Linked DNA regions of Homo sapiens: region 2 is linked to region 1. Evidence: promoter capture Hi-C in 16 types of primary human blood cells and fetal thymus (Javierre and others, 2016). All regions are on one chromosome and are shown on one strand. The core of a region is centred on a gene start or on the middle of the fragment in contact, and the rest is flanking DNA. Distances in the headings are between cores, read along the strand shown.

Region 1 (3,063 bases), core at 346-2,845:
TACATTCTCACACATTCCTCACCAGGGCCCCAGCTCATGCCCTTTCCTGAGCCCTGCTCTGTGGCCGCCAGTCCTCTCCCAGGTAAGCATTCCGCCTTCTTTCCCTTCCCCTCTTCAAAACTTAGTGCAAAAGTTTCTGGGCCTAGTTCGCATCTTTCTGATTTTTCTCATCTCTGAAATGGGAATAATAAGAATGATAGTGGGAATAATAATAGAAACCTGTGATAAAACCTGTGAATTACAGTTGCCGTAAGGATTAGATAACATTATACATGCTTGAAAACTTGTTGGAAACTGCGAAGGACTATAAAAACAGAAGTTGTTTTTATTGCCTTTATTCCTAAAGAAGATTGCAAGTGTCAGGGTGTTCAGGTGCTTGGCTGCTTGTCTCTCAGAGTGAATTAATGTGAGATGTTGCCAAGTGTTTCAAAAGGAAAATCCACTCTACTTCAGCGGGACGTCCACCCACCTTGCACAAAACCCTCTGGAAAGAAGTCTTTCGGTTTGCAAACTGGAGGCGTGGGAAAACAGAAAGCGCCCAAGGAGCACCTGCCCGCACCCCGCCCGCCCCCAGGCACCTGGGGCGCTGCCGCCTGCAGTCCCGGGAACCCCTATGACCTCCGGGGGCGGTGTGGAGAGCGCTCGCCCGCCTGGCCAGGGGAAGCCAAGACTTAGGGCCCTAGGAGTTAACTAGGTTGATTGATTTTGCAGTTGACCAAGAACTTCAAAACCCCCCGGGCGGTACCGGTTACTTCGGGGAGGCCCGCACACTTCCTCCGGGAAGGCCAGGAAGTAAGTGATGGTGCAGTAAAAATGACAGATTCACGGTTGTGGAAGAAGTAGGGTATATTTTTGGAGCAGCTCTAGCTGTCCCTGTGTTGGAAGAACGAGAGGGACCTGGGAGTCCGTTTCTCCACTCATCTCAAGAACCGCACGTCCTGCCAGGTCACCGAGGCAAGTGCTAGAACGGAAGAGAGCAAGCACTGCGAGGAGGCCCGAGGAGCCACGCAATCCAGACACCCGCCGCATGTCGCAGTCCGCCCAGGACGGGGGCGCGGGCTCACCTGTCTGCGGGGCGGCCCTTGGCAGGCCTGTTTCCATGGGTGAACAATGGGCACCTTACCAACTAACCTCCCTCGCCGAAGAGGGGCTGAAGTGTTTCTATTTCGACCTCCCTACAAAAACTACCCGAGAAAATAGGAGTTATGTTTTTAGTTCGAAGAAAAAAATAATGCTATAAATGTGACTCCTGCGGAGAAATGCTTCTCAGGTGTGAGAGGGGAACTGGGTAAGAGGACGGCTTAGAGGAAGGACAAATGGGACAGGGCTTATGGGGCATGTGAATGTAAATCGGCACATGTGCGCACATATGCAAAAATACAGTGTCAAGACTCACGGCCTTTCTGGGTCACGCAGGCTCCACCGTCTAAGGAGACGGAGTCACCAACAGTACAAGTCCCGACGGCCAAGAGGGCCCATTTTCTGCGCTTGCGCAATCATCACGTTTCCTTCCCCGCCCCGAGCCCCGCCCCCGAGCGCGCTCCGCCCCGCCCCCTTCTCCTCCCCTTCCCCAGCCAGGCCGCCGGCGCAGAGCATTGTGGGACACAAACAAAGTGCCCCCAAACAGGCTGGAGTGAGCGGAGCGGCAACGGCGGCGGCGCCGGCCGCACGCGCGCGGCGGCGGCTCCCTCCCAACCTCCCCCTCCCCTCCCCTCAGTCCCCTTCCCCTTCCCCACCCCGCCCCGCTGGGAACACGCGAGCCGTCGCCGCGCTCCCCAAACAACCGCCTGCCCTCGGCCAACCGTCCCCAACGGTCGCCAGCGCGCGGCTCCCGGGCCCCCTCGCTCCTCCCCTCTGGCCCCTCCGAGCGCTGGGGGTGCTTCCCTCCCCGCCTCCTCGCACTCCCACTCGCGGGCACGCCGGTGGCTGTGCCGCCATGCCCCACCACAGGCTGCTCACGGGCCTAGGCGCGGCGGCCCGAGATAGGGGCCCCTGAGCCTCCCGGGGGAGGAGAGAGGCAGCGAGCCGCGCTCCGCCCCCTCCCCCCGGGCCGCCGCCGCCGCCGCCTCGCCGCCCCAGCCTGGCGGGAGAAGGAGGAGGAGCAGCAGGCCTCCGGGCCCGGCGCCGCCGCCCGCAGGTAACGGGGAGGGGAGGGCGGGCTCCGGTCGCGCGGGGGACGGCCCCTGCACGCTGCCCGTGGCTGACACCGCGTGGCCCCCACCTGGCGCCGAAGGGAGCGGAGAGCCGGGTCTGTCAGCCTAGTCCGCGCCGGGAGACACCCCACGGGATCCCCTCGGTGGCATTTAATCCTTCTGGGAGGAGACCGGCCTTGGGCCCCGCGGTCCCGGAGCAGTTACCCCGACCTTCCAGGGAGCTGCCCGTCCTTTGCACGCCCATTTGCCCAACACCCTAACCCGGAGCGGCCGGAGTGTTGCCACCTCTCACCTGGTCGAACCCGGGAGGCTCAGACCTGTTTTTTTTCCTCCTTTCCCCTTCTGCTTTTTCTCTGGTACAGAAAGAAAAAGATGGCACTTCTTTAAAAAAATATATATATATATATATACACACACACAAACACACACACACATACACACACACACACACCTCTTTTCCTTTCCTTCCTGAGGATCACTCTGCATCTAGTCGTTTTATTGCTGGCCTAATCAGAAAAAGGGGTTACCTCGAGAAATGACAGGTACGTTAGAACTGATTAAAAGGAAATTGCGTCCATGTGAGTTCTATGAATCCAAGCAGAATTTACAATAAAACCCCGTAATTGTGTGCTTTTTTTTGGAACTTACAAAAATGAAGACAAAAACTTAATTTCTTTTTCAGCGTGTAAGTAGATAATCTCTTGAAGTCAGGAAGAAATTCTCCATAACTTCCACTTATTTTCTTAATGCTTTATTTGGAGATCGGCTGATACCGGAAGCAAGCTGCACGATTTTGATTTCCTTTTCTCTAGGTGTTCAGTTGGAATTCTTGGGTTTAAAAAATACTGTATAAATCTTCATTTCCCCCATTACTTCACTTGGACTGTCAGTGGATTAATAATAATTTTAC
Region 2 (2,943 bases), core at 346-2,845, 6.6 Mb after region 1:
TGTAATCCCAGCTATTCGGGAGGCTGAGGCAGGAGAATTGCTTGAACCCAGGAGGCAGACATTGCAGTAAGCCGAGATCGCTGGGCGACAGAGCAAGACTCTGTCCAAAAAAAAAAAAAAAAAAAAAAAAGAGAGAGAGATTAGCATTTGAATCAGTAGACTGAGTAAAGAAAATCACTCTCACCACTATGCGTAGGCACCATCCAATCCATTGAGGGCCCAAATAGTATAAAAAGGCAGAGGAAAAGTAAATTCACCTCTCTCTTCTTGAGCTGGGACATCATCTCCTCCTGCTCTCTGGCCTTCAGACACCAGCACCTCAATCCCTTTCCAGTTCTCAGGCCTTCAGCTTTAGACTGAATTATACCACCAACCTCCTTATTTCTCCAGCTTGCAGTAAGCAGATGGTGGGACTTCTCAACGTCCATAATTATGTAAGCCAACTCCTTATAATAAATCTCCTTTTATATGTTTATACATACCCCGTGTGAAAGGAAAGTGATTTGGGGCCCCCAAAATCACTAAAGGGAAAATTCATGCTGGGAACTGCTTAGGGCAAACCTGCCTCCCCTTCTATTCAAAGTCACCTCTCTGCTCACTGAGATAAATGCATATCTGATTGCCTCCTTCCGGAGAGGCTAATCAGCAACTCAATGCAACCATTTGTGTCTTATCTACCTATGACCTGGAAGCCCCCTCCCCGCTTTGAGTTGTCCTGCCTTCTGGGTTCACACCTATTAGTTCTGTTTCGCTAATACACTGCCACTCCACCAAAAGTAACTAATCCTTTGGTTCAAACCCAGTAAACAGATCCCAGCAATGTGTCCCATGAAAAGGAAGTGGCACATGGCACGTGGAGAGTGGTGACTTACAGGGTAAAAGGGACAGAGAGCAAAGGAAAATGTCAAGTATGGGCAGAAAGGTCACCGAACGGACAAAAATGAACAAATGAGATCAGGGAAGACAGCCTGAAAGTAAAGAAATACGAAGCAACACTCAAAGGAAAAGAAAGAACAGTGATACCATAACTATTTTCTTTCTGAGCTTCTGATGTTCCATTCAGTTCATGTGCAATGTATCATTTAGTCCTCAGAGTAACGGTATTATTATGCCCGTTTTATATGATGCACAATAGGGTTCAAAGATGGAGAGATTCGGCCGAGGCCCTGCTGCTGATGGTGACTGCAAGAGCCAGTATTCAAACCTAACGCTGCCCTTTTCTACCATGTTGCAGCGGACAATGCAAAGAAAAAAAAATCAAGAAAAACACGTAGAGGTATCCAAATGAAAACAAACACACAAAAGATCAAAAACAGAAAAGAAAAAAGAAAAGAAAAAGAAAACCCTTGCAGAAGGTATGCCTGTAAATGAAAGGCCCAAGATGTTAATTTATTCGCTGCAGAGTGGAGTTAGGGGTCGCGGACGGCAGCTGTGGGGTCCGAGGCTTCTTCGCACTGGGTCCTTGGGGAGCACTGAGCCGCAACCCGCGGAGGGCGCATAGAGAGGATCAAACCTCCCACAGCCTAGAAAGGCTCCTACTCGGCGAGAAGGCGGGGCGAGCGATCGCTTCCGGTTCCGGGCGCAAAGGCCCCACGTGTTCCGACCCGCTAGGCCCCGCGCGGCTCGGATCCGGCGGCGCTGTTTCGGTCGGGAGTGGGTGGGAGAGAAGCCGGGGCAGGGGAGGAGCCGCCGGAGCTGTCGGAGCCGTGAGTCCTGAGTGGGCTGGGCTGGGCCGGGCCGGGCTGGACCGGGCCGGACCAGATCGGGCAGAGCCGGGCAGGGCGGGGAGGAGGGGGAGGGACCGGAGACCCCGCCCCCCAGAGTCTGGGGAAATCGCCGTGTCCTGGGGAAGGGGTGGCGGCGGTGTACTGAGGGTGCCGAGACGTTGTGGTCTCTGTGTTTCCTGGTGGCCGGAGCCAGTATCTCCGGGGACACGGATGGCGCTCCCGGCTTCCTTTCCTTTCCAGCCACCGCCCTCCGCCCCCTCCTGGGGCCTGCAGAAATGTAGTTAGTCCGTACCTCGTACCTCCTAACGCTTCCGCGCCAACTGTCCCCCCGGAACCGAGGGAGGAGTGGTCTAGGCCCCTTTATTTTCCGCAGCTTTTTCTTACCCCTCCTCTCAGATTGCTTAAGATCATCTCCGCGGGCTCCTTGCCCCGGCTAGCCCCATCTCCTTACACCACCAAGCCCCCCTCAGCCCCCCAGCACACACCCAGATACACTCACCCGTGATCTTGTCACCTGTGATGATAGTAGTCCTTGGCGTCCATTTGGCCAGAGGCTTTTCAGCTGCCACTGTGACAGACCCTGAGGTCCCCTCAAGCCAGTAGCTGCTGTCTCCACTTGCAACTTTCCTCTCCTCCCACTCCTAACAGCCAGTTTTGGCACCTCTTCTCAGCACCTGCGTTACTTTTAGCAGGAGTATACCTACTTCTTGAGTGTCTTGATTAAAAATTTGTTTTTGTGCCATGGATAGGCTGTGTTCCTTCAGAAAGGTGTCAGTCTAATTTTTGTTTTTCTGAACAATGAATGTTCTCATCTTCTAGGCGCTTTGATAACCCTGTCTGCCTTGGAATCTGTACTGACCTCCCCAGAGGGAGACTCTTAGACCCAGCCTTTCTTGAACAACCTTGGTCCTGGGGAGCAGCGCTAGATCCCAGGCTCTCAATTAGAGGCTGGGCTTAGAACTGTTGCTTTTTCTCTATCCACGCTCTGCAGGTGACACCCAGGGCAGCTACACTCAGAAGCCACAAGGAATGCTAGTGGAGCCCCTCATCCCTCCCAGCTTCTCTTCCAAGCTGCCCCGTGGGGCTTGATCCAGGAAGCTACTTCAGAAAGGTTGTGGGATAGCCTTGGGAGGAGGTTTGTTGGTGGGAAGCGTGTGAACGCGGAGCAGTCTGGGATAACTTTCTGCTGTTACTATCTAGCATAAGAGGGTGGGCA

The links. The method cuts DNA at HindIII sites, captures the fragments that hold promoters and counts their contacts. A CHiCAGO score of 5 or more calls a contact.
Region 2: a contact is called between the fragment with the promoter of ZNF202 here and the fragment with the promoter of ZBTB44 in region 1, in 1 of 17 cell types (naive CD8 T cells). The highest score is 8.2, in naive CD8 T cells.

What each region holds. Positions count from the first base shown.
Region 1 is chr11:130,313,449-130,316,511 of GRCh38, reverse strand. It overlaps ZBTB44 (zinc finger and BTB domain containing 44), which reads left to right and starts at 1,595. Exons shown (of 8, transcript NM_001301098.2): 1 at 1,595-2,137. ZBTB44-DT (ZBTB44 divergent transcript) reads right to left here and starts at 1,519. Exons shown (of 7, transcript NR_148980.1): 1 at 1,397-1,519. RefSeq lists silencers at 502-561, 1,472-2,301 and enhancers at 862-961, 1,132-1,231, 2,392-2,441. The HindIII fragment of the contact is 9,181 bases long and covers 1-3,063 here.
Region 2 is chr11:123,740,312-123,743,254 of GRCh38, reverse strand. ZNF202 (zinc finger protein 202) reads left to right here and starts at 1,595. Exons shown (of 9, transcript NM_003455.4): 1 at 1,595-1,706; 2 at 2,719-2,838. RefSeq lists enhancers at 413-1,010, 2,000-2,209 and silencers at 1,600-1,649, 1,690-1,819. The HindIII fragment of the contact is 6,844 bases long and covers 1-2,943 here.